Linked DNA regions of Homo sapiens: all the other regions are linked to region 2. Evidence: promoter capture Hi-C in 16 types of primary human blood cells and fetal thymus (Javierre and others, 2016). All regions are on one chromosome and are shown on one strand. The core of a region is centred on a gene start or on the middle of the fragment in contact, and the rest is flanking DNA. Distances in the headings are between cores, read along the strand shown.

The links. Contacts are between HindIII fragments. The CHiCAGO score rates a contact against its expected background, and 5 or more counts as called.
Region 1: a contact is called between the fragment with the promoter of PRPH2 here and the fragment with the promoter of PTK7 in region 2, in 1 of 17 cell types (neutrophils). The highest score is 6.9, in neutrophils.
Region 3: a contact is called between a fragment that was not itself captured here and the fragment with the promoter of PTK7 in region 2, in 1 of 17 cell types (naive CD4 T cells). The highest score is 5.8, in naive CD4 T cells.

Annotation. Positions count from the first base shown.
Region 1 is chr6:42,720,490-42,724,162 of GRCh38, reverse strand. It overlaps PRPH2 (peripherin 2), which reads left to right and starts at 1,566. Exons shown (of 3, transcript NM_000322.5): 1 at 1,566-2,409. The coding sequence starts at 1,829. The HindIII fragment of the contact is 19,648 bases long and covers 1-3,673 here.
Region 2 is chr6:43,074,837-43,079,023 of GRCh38, reverse strand. It overlaps PTK7 (protein tyrosine kinase 7 (inactive)), which reads right to left and starts at 2,710. Exons shown (of 20, transcript NM_002821.5): 1 at 2,457-2,710. The coding sequence starts at 2,535. KLC4 (kinesin light chain 4) reads right to left here. Exons shown (of 16, transcript NM_201521.3): 16 at 3,931-4,187. KLC4-AS1 (KLC4 antisense RNA 1) reads left to right here and starts at 2,794. Exons shown (of 2, transcript XR_002956347.1): 1 at 2,794-3,329; 2 at 3,757-4,187. RefSeq lists a silencer at 2,623-2,722 and an enhancer at 3,052-3,575. The HindIII fragment of the contact is 8,069 bases long and covers 1-3,472 here.
Region 3 is chr6:42,649,466-42,653,128 of GRCh38, reverse strand. It overlaps UBR2 (ubiquitin protein ligase E3 component n-recognin 2), which reads right to left. Exons shown (of 47, transcript NM_001363705.2): 23 at 2,743-2,845; 24 at 1,058-1,106; 25 at 484-638. Among named protein-coding and RNA genes, the nearest start is that of PRPH2, 71 kb to the left of the region's middle. The HindIII fragment of the contact is 871 bases long and covers 951-1,821 here.

The sequences.
Region 1 (3,673 bases), core at 317-2,816, 350 kb after region 2:
ACTGTAAGAAATAATCCATTAATTAATAATAATAATAAATGTACAGATTCACCAAGAGTGTACACTTCTACTTCCACTCTCTTTGTTGATGTATGGTGACAGAATTTTGACATACATTCAATTTGATGGATCGAGTTTGGTCTTTTTCTTTTTTTGAGACGTCATTTCACTCTTGTCACCCAGGCTGGAGTGCAATGGCGCAATCTTGGCTCACTGCAACCTCCACTTCCCGGGTTCAATTGATGCTCCTTCCTCAGCCTCACAAGTAACTGGGATTACAGGTGCCTGTCACCATACCCAGACAATTTTTGTATTTTTAGTAGAGACAGGGTTTCACCATGTTGGCCAGGCTGGTCTTGAATGCCTGACCTCAAGTGATCCACCCACCTTGGCCTTCCAAACTGCTGGGATTACAGGTGTGAACCACTGTGCCCGGCCAAGTTTGGTATTTTATTGTTGTTTGGATTTGCATTTTCCTGCTTATTACCCAAGTTGAGATCTTTTCCAGATTATTGGACTTTTCAAGTTTCCTAATTATGAATTGTCTGTTCCTGGTTTTTGCCTATTTTTCCAGTTGATTATTGGTCTTTTGATTGTGAATTTTTGTTTATTGTGAATTTGTGAGACTTAAAACATTTTTGCATATTAATTCTTTTTTTTTTTTTTCCAGACAGAGTCTCACTGTCACCCAGGCTGGAGTGCAATGTGGGGATCTCAGTTCAGTGCAACCTCCACCTCCTGGGCTCAAGCGATCCACCTGCCTTGGCCTCCCAAAGTACTGGGATTACAGGCATAAGCCACCATGCCTGGCCACTGTATATTACTTTTTAATTTTACAAGTTGCAAATGTTTTCTCACGATCTGTCACTTTCTTTCTTTCCTTCCTTCTTCTCTTCTTTTCTTTGTCTTTTTAAAATTTGAGACAGGGCCTCACTCTGTCACCCAGGCTGGAGTGCAGTGGCACGATCATGGCTCAGTGCAGCCTTGAACTCCCCAGGCTCAGGTGATCTTGCCACCTCAGCCTCCAGAGTAGCTGGGAGAACTACAGGTGCATGCCACCATACCCAGCTAATTTTTTTTTTTTTTTTTTTGTGTGTGTGTGTGTGTGTGTGGAGATGGGGTCTTCCTATGTAGCCCAGGCTGGTCTTGAACTCCTGGGCTCAAGTGATCCACCCAACTTGGTCTCCCAAAGTGCTGGGATTATAGGCGTGATCCACTGTGCCTGGCCCTGTCATTTCTTTTCTCAGAGAGGATAACAATTTATTTGTCCTACAGAAAGTTTTAAATGTTGAAGGAGATTGGCCTGGAAATATGCTTTTGGGGAGCAACACGGTCTGAGCCAGACATCCAGATACAGCCCATTCTTCTGGCCAGTCTTGCCCTTTGCTCCTGATTCTCCAAGCTGTACCCAGAGCTTTCTGGTTCAGCATGTACCTGGAGGCTGCTTTTGACCATGTTTTGAGAGTGGCATGGCTTTATCTAATGGGATGAACCTGGCTAAAGAGATTAGCAAAATGTCTTGTGGATCCCACTTTTAATCTGCAGCGTTCAGGCTGCCCCTTCTTGGCTGGGAAGGGCGCTGAAGAAACAACGCCCAGGACCAGGACTATCCCCTGCTCAAGCTGTGATTCCGAGACCCCTGCCACCACTACTGCATTCACGGGGATCCCAGGCTAGTGGGACTCGACATGGGTAGCCCCCAGGGCAGCTCCCTACAGCTTGGGCCATCTGCACTTTTCCCAAGGCCCTAAGTCTCCGCCTCTGGGCTCGTTAAGGTTTGGGGTGGGAGCTGTGCTGTGGGAAGCAACCCGGACTACACTTGGCAAGCATGGCGCTACTGAAAGTCAAGTTTGACCAGAAGAAGCGGGTCAAGTTGGCCCAAGGGCTCTGGCTCATGAACTGGTTCTCCGTGTTGGCTGGCATCATCATCTTCAGCCTAGGACTGTTCCTGAAGATTGAACTCCGAAAGAGGAGCGATGTGATGAATAATTCTGAGAGCCATTTTGTGCCCAACTCATTGATAGGGATGGGGGTGCTATCCTGTGTCTTCAACTCGCTGGCTGGGAAGATCTGCTACGACGCCCTGGACCCAGCCAAGTATGCCAGATGGAAGCCCTGGCTGAAGCCGTACCTGGCTATCTGTGTTCTCTTCAACATCATCCTCTTCCTTGTGGCTCTCTGCTGCTTTCTGCTTCGGGGCTCGCTGGAGAACACCCTGGGCCAAGGGCTCAAGAACGGCATGAAGTACTACCGGGACACAGACACCCCTGGCAGGTGTTTCATGAAGAAGACCATCGACATGCTGCAGATCGAGTTCAAATGCTGCGGCAACAACGGTTTTCGGGACTGGTTTGAGATTCAGTGGATCAGCAATCGCTACCTGGACTTTTCCTCCAAAGAAGTCAAAGAGTGAGTGGCTTCCAGTCCTGGGGTCAGAGCTATGAATATATTGGGGACACTGAGGCTCAGGCCTCTGACCAGCCCCTCTCCCCGCACCCAGTGCCTTTTCCTCTCCATCGGGTGCACAACTTATTGCTGCGTATGTGAGGGTGTATCAGGTGGAACCATATGAAATTGCTAATATTCTACCTCTTTGACCCATAAAAAATGACAACTTCATAGGGTTCAACCTAACATTGGCTAAGGTGGTAGGAAGGTATCAATTTATATAAGCTGTTTGGATAGGAGCCCCTTGGGATGAAGAGCCAGGCAGCAATGTGTGTCCACTTTATACAGAGGGATGGAAGTCATTCATAGATCACAAACACTGAGGTACTATTTGGCTATTTGTCCCATTCATTCAAAGTAGATGGATTCAGTCCCAGAAGTTTAAATTTCCTAGTTAGTTCCCTTGTTTTCCAACCTTTCAACCCTGAGCATCCATTCCCAAGATGTTTGTCTGGATATGTTGGAAAGAGCATAGGAAGGGGAAGTCATGAGATCTAGGGTGAAGTTTTGGTTCTGTTGTTCAAGGTCTTGTGACCTTGGGCAGGTCACTAGTCACTCTGCGCTTTGGCTTGCCCATCTTTTAAATGAGCACTGGAATAGAATAGGTAATTTTGGAAGTCACCTCCTAGCCCTGCCTGGTAGCTGGCATGCAGCAGGTACTCATTAAATGCTTGCTGGTGTTTACTTAGCGAGTCATGATAGTGCAATGTGATAAAGCATTTCTAAAGTATTCTTGGCATATGTAAAAGTAAAATGCTGCGATGGGCTGTGGGAGGTGCTGGTGAGAGAGAGACTCTCGACCACTGTGTCGGAGGGAACAGCCTGTGCACTGGCTCCAGCGGGCTGCTCTTCCCAACACACCCACCAACCTGGGGCTCGAGTGACTTTTCAGGGAAAGGGCAGCCTGCCTTGAGGCAGCCGCTTTCCCTCACCTCTTCTTTCTGTCTGACTCGACCCTACCTGGCTGAGGTTAGGGGTTCAGTTATTCCTAAGGGTGGTTTTTTTTTCTTCCCAGTGAGGCTGGCAAGTCCAAAGGGAACTTGAACTCAGGGCATTGGCACCAGCAGCAGGACATGTTTGAAGCCCAAAACAACATTAATGACGCCCAAATAGCTAGCTTATATCTGCCCTGCAGATGGAAGGGACGTCCAAGTGAAGGTCACTTCTTGGGATTTTATTTTCTTGTGGATGGAGATTACTGCTGCAAATCCCCAGTCAGGAGAGG
Region 2 (4,187 bases), core at 1,461-3,960:
CACCCTTGCCCTGCCACCATACTTCCCAACAGCTGAGAAAAGCCATCACTAATAAAAGCAACTCCTAGGCCTGAATTACAGGCTGCAGAGCCTTGAGGAATCTGCAGACAGCCTATCCCAGAACATGACGACTCAATTTCCCCAAAGAAACAAGAGCCCGGAGGAAAGAAACCAGGGAGGGGGATGGGAATTGGAATGAGAAGTGACCACAGCTGACTGTACAAGAGGTTGGGGTTAAGAATCCATAGTTTCAAACATCAAGCCTCCTCCTCCTCCACCATATTTATTACAACAGCATCTCAAAGTTTGGAAAGTAACTCTGCCATTTATGGCATAATTACCCAGACTTTAAAATGGTCTAATCCACAAACCTAGCCAGCCTAGGTTCCTTACTCCAGCCTTATTAACAGTGGGATCTCACTACAACTCCAGTTAATTACACAATTAAACAATGAGATGCAAACATCTACTGTGATCTATTAAAAAACCGTTGCCCCTGAAGTCATGCGTCTGGGGGTGGGTTGAGTCCCAGGATTTCACTAGAAGACAGCAGGCGCCTCGGCCTCCACTGAAATTGTTTACAGCACATGGACAGGTTCCACAACAAGGCACATTTGGTGGAATTGATTTAAGGCTCTCATTAAAATGTTCCTTTGTTGAGCACAAGACATCCCCCCACCCCTGAGGAGACTACAGACCTCCTGTCCTAAGCCCTCAGCCTGCCCTAACTTCCCCCAACAGGATCCCCCACACACACGCGCGCACACACACTAAACACCAACCAGTCACCAGATTAAGTCAATTAACATCAGAGTCATCTTCTCATGGAAGGAATTTAGGAATTCAGCATTTGTTGAGCAAGAGCCCCATCTTCACCAGAAACTCCCCTTGACTCTAGTACCCTGAACAGCAGCAGTGAAGGCAGCCTCATTGGGCAGACCCACACACCAAAACCCAACCAGGACAGCCAGGGGGCCTGTGAGCTTGGGCTGCTCGCCCAGATGGCTGGGCCCCCATCCTGGCTGTGCAAAAAAACTTCCATACTTCCTCTGGGAGCAGATGTGGATTCTGCCACGAGCAATAACCACCACACACATCACAAGAAAAACGGGGCAACTCCAGAAACACCTCCTCCAAATCCCTGGAGATTGGTCTCTTTCCTGGGTTACATTTACCTCTCCTTTTACAACTGGGGGCAGGGGAGATGTTGATTCCACCAGCACCAAAACCCCTCCACAGCTGGCAGGCCAGAAAGATATTAGAAAGGCAATTCCTTACCCATGCCCTTCCCATTGCCACCTTCAAAGGAGATGGAAGGTGATCACCTAGGACAGGTCTCCTCGACAGAGCTCCCCAAGAGAAAGCTGCTTCGAGGACCACCAAGGAGTGTTGTGGAGGGTCGGGGGCTTTATTTCCAGTCCGGGCTATTTGGGATGTGCGGGTGGCTTGGTGCTTTCCTGTAAGGCACTTCAACACCTCAGTGATGACTCTTAGGTGTGACCAAGCCAGGAAATAAAAGCTGCGGGAGTTGGGGGGGCGGTGCTGTCTGCCCTGGTGATGAGGGCCACACCCTCGTTAAAATGCTAAGGCCCCCCCCCAAGAAAAGCCAGAATGAGCTCTTTTTGCCTTTCTTCCCTTAGAAATACTTCCTTTCCTCTGTGAGGACAGTCAGGATGGAAATCCAGGAAGGAGCAGAACAAACCCCGTCCGCACCTTTGCAGCCAGGCCATGCCCGATTTTGGCAGCGGCCTTCACACATTAGTCACCGCGACAGCCTGGGACCCTCGGATCCCCGGATTCGGCCCTGGCACGGAGTGGGCGCAGGGTTCCAGACCAGTAGCTAGAGGCCATGGATGGGGGCGGCCCCTAACTCTTCCCTTCTTCCGCCCTCACCCGCAGGGCCATCTGGGGTCTCAGCTTTGCCCAGGAACTCGGAGGAGGGAAGCCGGGAACGTCGGGTCGGCGTAGGTAACAAAGCTCCGCGCTTTGCGCGCCGCAGGTCTGTCCGGCATCGGGCCCCAAACCAGCAACTCTTACCTGGGCCGACCCTGCCGGGTGGGGTGGGGAATTCCTTTTTCTCCATCGCGCTCCCCACGGTGGGTGCGGATGGTCTTTTCTCCCCCGACAAGAAACTCCCCATCTGGGCCCGAGAGCCAGCAACTCTCGGCAGTTCTCGAGCAAACTCTCGGCTCAGACCAGAAAAACTCAGGGAGGCTGGAAATGCGTCCCCGCGGCGCGAGTGGGAGGGGTACCCTGACCGCGTCCCTGGAGGCTTCGCCAGCCTCCCGACACCCGGGCTCCTTGCGCCCTTCCGCCGCAAGCCTGCACCCCCAGCGAGCCTCTCCACTACTCCAGGGCCGTTCCAGCCGCCCAAACCCACCGCCCCGGGCGCAGCCTTTTGCCCACGGGACTCCCGCGCTTCCCAAGCTCTGTGCCCCCAACTCTCGGGTACTCACCGCCCAGCAGCGGCAGCAGCAGGACGCTGAGCAGAGGCAACCGGCGGGGTCTGGCCGGGGATCCCCGCGCAGCTCCCATCGCGGCGGGCTCAGGAAAAGGAGCTGAGGGCGCACGGCGGGCGCGCAGACTGCGCTCCGCGGCGGGCACAGGAGGCGGAGCGCACCGGAGCGCGGGCGCCGCAGCAGCAGCCGCAGCCGGAGCCCGACCCCGAGGCGTCCCGAGGCGTCCCGAGCCGGAGCCGCGCGCGCCCAGTACCTCCGAGTCCCCGCGCGCCGCCGCCGCCGCCGCCAAGCCCCGCCCCACGACGCCCCCTCCCCTCCGGCCCCCGCACGGCGCCCCGCCCCCTCGACGCCCCCTCCTCGCCGAGGCGGGGAGGAGCTCAGTAGGGGGAGGGGTCTGGAGAGGGATGGAGAATAGAGAGAGCAAGGCTCAGGGAAGTGCAGGGGACCTGAGTATTTGCTGTACCCACCACCGACTCTGCAGGGATCCGGGAGAACCTAAGTGACTTGTGCGATTCCGTGGACCCTGGGGAGAATGGTCCATTCTGGGCATACCTGGAGGCTCTGGCCAACAGTTCCCCCAGAATTCTCCAGGTGGGGGCAGGGGAAGAGGCGGGCCCCGCCAACTCTTCAGCAACCCAAAATCTTAACGGCAGACCCAGAACAGCAGGGTGTCCTTAATGTCCCCAAGTAACCTGAAGATGCTGTGTAGCCCGGAGAGGGGCTGAAGTGTGCATGACTGGGGTCTGGTTTGGCTGTAGACCAATCTGAACCCAAAGGTAGAAACACGCTGGGCTCTGAAAGCCAGGCTGAAGTCTGCTAACTGACAAATTCATCCCAAGTCCATCTCCAGGCAGTCTGGGCTGTGTCAGGGTATGGCCAAGTCTCCAGCTGTGGGGAGGCCCAGCACAACCCTTGTTCCAGGCACCCCCACCCCCAGCGCCACCACCCCCACATTCTTTCTTTGTTGTGAAAGCAGCAAGGGGTGTAGGAGGCGGGTCAGGAGGAGTCAAGCTTTAGAAGATGGGCCCCAGCTGCTGCTCAGGCCTCCAAGATATGCTGAGAGGGGATGGATAGTGCCTTGTCTCCCCTCTGGTTCCGGAGGGCCCCCCAGGCCTGTTTAGACCTCCCTTCCCCCAAGCAGCTGGGAGGAGGAATGGCAGCCACAGAGGGCCTCACAGCCAGGAGAAGTGGCGCCAGGACTCCAGGGTCCTGCCACATGGCCACCACATGTCCCTGACAACCCAGTCCACAGCACCTTCTCCTTGGGTTGTGAGCCTCCTTCTTCCCCATCCCCCAGATGCCTTCCTACAGGCCCTGCTGGAGATGATACAAACAACGGGAGGAAGAGAGGAGAGATCCAAGAATCAACACTCCTCCTGCTGCTCCATCCATCACTGCCCCTCACCTTCTGTGAAGGGCCCCAACACAAGCCCTGCTTCATACCCTCTTCAATCAGGACTCAAGTCACAGAAAGGTTACCTGATTCTTTTATTTAAGAAAAGTGAAATACATGGACCTGAAGTGAGACAGCAGAGGGAGGGAGTAAGAGCGGCCAGGGCAAGGCAGCTTGGCTGGCCAGCCCCCAACCCTCTGACTGAAAAGCCAGCAGCAGGCTGCATCTCTGAGGGCCATACCTGCTTTGTACCCACCTTGGGGCCTCAGAGCTAGCTACTCTAGAGGACCACAGGGTGCAGAGAGGGTGTCCTGAGGGTCCTTCCTAAGAGGGAT
Region 3 (3,663 bases), core at 137-2,636, 420 kb after region 2:
TCCTGGGTGACAAAGCTAGATCCTGTCTCAAAAACACAAAAACAAAAATAACACAAACAAGGTTCCAGACTTGCCACTTAACTAGCTATAGGACCGTAAGTCTATGAGTGTCAGTTTCTTCAACTACAAAATAAGGATATGGATGATTCAAAAAAAATTTTTGTTTTGGAAAATAATTAGATTAGAAACATATATAAAAGATAACACATTATATCAATATCAGAATACTACATATATAAAGACAAGGACCAATCTAGGAGAGAACAACTGCCCAGTGGGACTGAGGTAATAACAACCATGTGGTATAAAAAAATCTGTCTGGCACTTGTTTTTACTGTCAGACACAAAAGCAGTAACAATATATTCAAGTTAGGAAAACACAATACATTTCGGCCTAGTTTTCCTGTGTATAGATACAGACAAGAATATTTTGCTTGTACTATAAAATACTAAAATATAAATAATAAATGTCTTCAAACCTACCCTTTGCAGCATGGACTCTGACCAGGCATATCCATTATGTTCCACAGCCCATTGCAGAATTGTTCCCATGATGCACAACATGACATCTGACTGCAAAATGTTAACCAGGCTTGCAAACAGAGGGCAGAATGGAGGCAACACCGGAGGTGGGAGTGCTGAAAATACAGTTGTTATTATTGGTTTCTTTTACAGAACATGCTTTAGAAACTATCTCTTTGTTACTTTTGATAGTTTTAACTCAAAGAATATTCATTAACACACACCTTAAAGCTATTATTTTACATTCTCAAGGTCAAATGCATAAAAAGAGCCACGAAAGTAGCAGCAGTACAGAAGAAAGTCTATCTTTTCCCCTAGAAAGGTCTTAAGATCTGAGATAACATCAACCCAGAGGACTTAGCACAAACTATTTCTGTGTTAACATATTTATTATTCCTCTGAATAGGAGGTTATTCACTAGGAAAGCTTACATTTAAATATTCATTCCACCAAGGACAATCATCATAGTTAACAGAAAACAATGTTTAACAAGCAAAAAAGATGGGCAAGACATTTTCAGAAAGATTAAAAATACCTGTATCTTCTCTATTTTGTCTTTTCAATTTCCGTTGCGCTTCTTCTGCCTAATAAAAAATAAAGTTATTTGGACCGGGAATTAGTAATGCCCACCACCACACCTGGTTAATTTTTATATTTTTAGTAGAGGTGGGGTTTCACTATGTTGGCCAGGCTGGTCTTGAACTCCTGACCTTGTGATCTGCCCACCTCAACCTCCCAAAGTGCTGGGATTACAGGCATGAGCCAATGTGTCTGGCCAAGGATGAACATCTAAAATCAGAAAATAACACAACAGAGGCCGGGGCGTGGCAGCTCACACCTGTAATCCCAGCACTTTGGGAGGCCAAGACAGGTGGATCACCTGAGGTCAGGAGTTCGAGAGCAGCCTGGCCAACGCGGAGAATCCCCATCTCTACTAAAAATACAAAAATTGGCTGGGCGTGGTGGCACACACCTGTAATCCTAGCTACTCAGAAGGCTGGGGCAGGATAATTGCTTGAACCTGGGAGGCAGGGGCTCTAGTGAGCCGAGGTCTGCACTCCAGCCTGGGTAACAGAGTGAGACCCTATCTCAAAAAAAATAAAAAATAAAAAAGATATCTATCTTTAAGTTCTAGTCCTCCCCCAAACGGATACATCAAGGTTAATTTTTTTTTTTAACTAAAAGAATCTCCAAACGAGTTCTCTATTACTTTAAATTAGAAGGGAAACATGTACTTAAATAAGTACAAACTTATTTAAGTTTGAACTCTATGACTTCATCAAAAACTAAATAAAAGCTTTATGTTTAAGTTTTATTTAATGCTGTTTATTGAAAAACCATTTTAAGAGGAGACTGCTAAAAGGCAGATTTTTTTTTTTTTTTTGAGATACGGTCTCACTCCCATCATCCAAGCTGGAATGCAGTGGTGCAATCATAGCTCACTGCAGTCTTGACCTCCTGGGCTCAAGTGATCCTCCTATCTCAGCCTCCTGAGTAGCTGGGACGAGAAGTGCATGACACCATGCCTGGCTAATTTTTGTATTTTTAGTAGACATGGGATTTCAACATGTTGGCCAGGCTGATCTCGAACTCCTGAGCTCAAGCGATCTGCCCGCCTCAGCCTCCCAAAGTGCTGGGATTACATGCCCCACCAAAAAGGCAAAATTTAATTACCTAGGAATGATTAGAAAAGCTCCATGAATCTCTATGAAAAAGTGTTAAATAATACCAATTCTGAAATGTGCATAAAATGGATTAACTGATTATAATACAGGTTGAAAATTTGTTTTAAAAAACTATACCCATATACGTAAAGGTATGTATTATATAGATCGTATATACATATGTACAAAACGCTAGGGGGTAACTCCAAAATGTTAGGTGAGGGTATTTTAAGTAATTTCTACTTTCTTCTTTATATTTTATATTTTCCAAATCCCCTACAATAAAAATGTATCATTTTTCAATCTGCAAAAGCAGTAAAAAAGTTGTTTAGGAAAAAAAAATTCAAGCCAGATACAGTGGTGCATGCCTGTAATCTCATCTACTCAAGAGGCTGAGGTGGGAGAATTGCTTGAGCCCAGGAGTTTGAGGTTGCAATGCTCTATAATGGCATTGTGAATAGCCACCAAACTCTAGCCTGGGCAACATGGTGAAACCTCATCTCTTAAGAAAAACAATGCAATCCTTCCCTGCTACATTTTTAATTTTCCCAATTACCTTGGACTGTTCTGCCCTTGAAAAGTGATAGAAATACAAGTTGAACTCTTTGGCACATTCTGGTTTCAGTTCATACATGCCTCGTCCTGTTAATCCAGGTTTCCTGTGAAAGAAAGGACCTTAGAATATTATTACCAAAGCCATACACTAATTTATGAGAGATAGTCTTGGATATTAGAACAAGAAAGCAGAGCTCTCATATACTGCTGGTGGGTGTTAAGCTACAACTATTTTCAGTGGGTTGATTTGGCAGTCTAAATCCGAGTTCTACATGCATCTGTTTTATTTAGCATGCCCACTTGGAATTTATCCTAACTAGACAAGTGAACGTGATGGACACTGCAGTGGCAACAATTAAAAAGTCTAATAACGTGAAATAACAAATTACAACATCTCCAAACAACTGAACACCATTAACAGTGATAATTTCTCTATTTTCACATGTAAAGACTTCCGTGTTGTTCTATTAAGCAGAAAAAAGCAGGTACACTATTGGGGTTTAGAGAACTTTCCTAAGCAAGTTATAAAACCCAGAAGCCAATTGAGACAGAGTTTTAAAAACAGAAAGTTAAAAAACAAGGGAGACTGGAAGAAAGTACTGTGATGTATTAAATAAGAATTGACATTTCTAATATATAATACTTTCGGAACAATAAGATAGGGACAAACAACCATAAAGAAAAATGCATTAAAGTATGAAAAAATAAACGGCCAATAAACACATGAAAAGAAGCTCAACTTCACTTAGAGTAACGCAAATTAAAATAAGGTACTAAAAGACTGCTCATATTAAAGTGTTGACAAAGTTGCAGGGCACTCTTTATACACTTCTAGTCAGAGTGTAAATCGAGGACTTTTTTGGGAAGGCAATTAGGAGGTATGTACCAAAATGTAATACAAGCTTTCATTTTGATCTAGCTA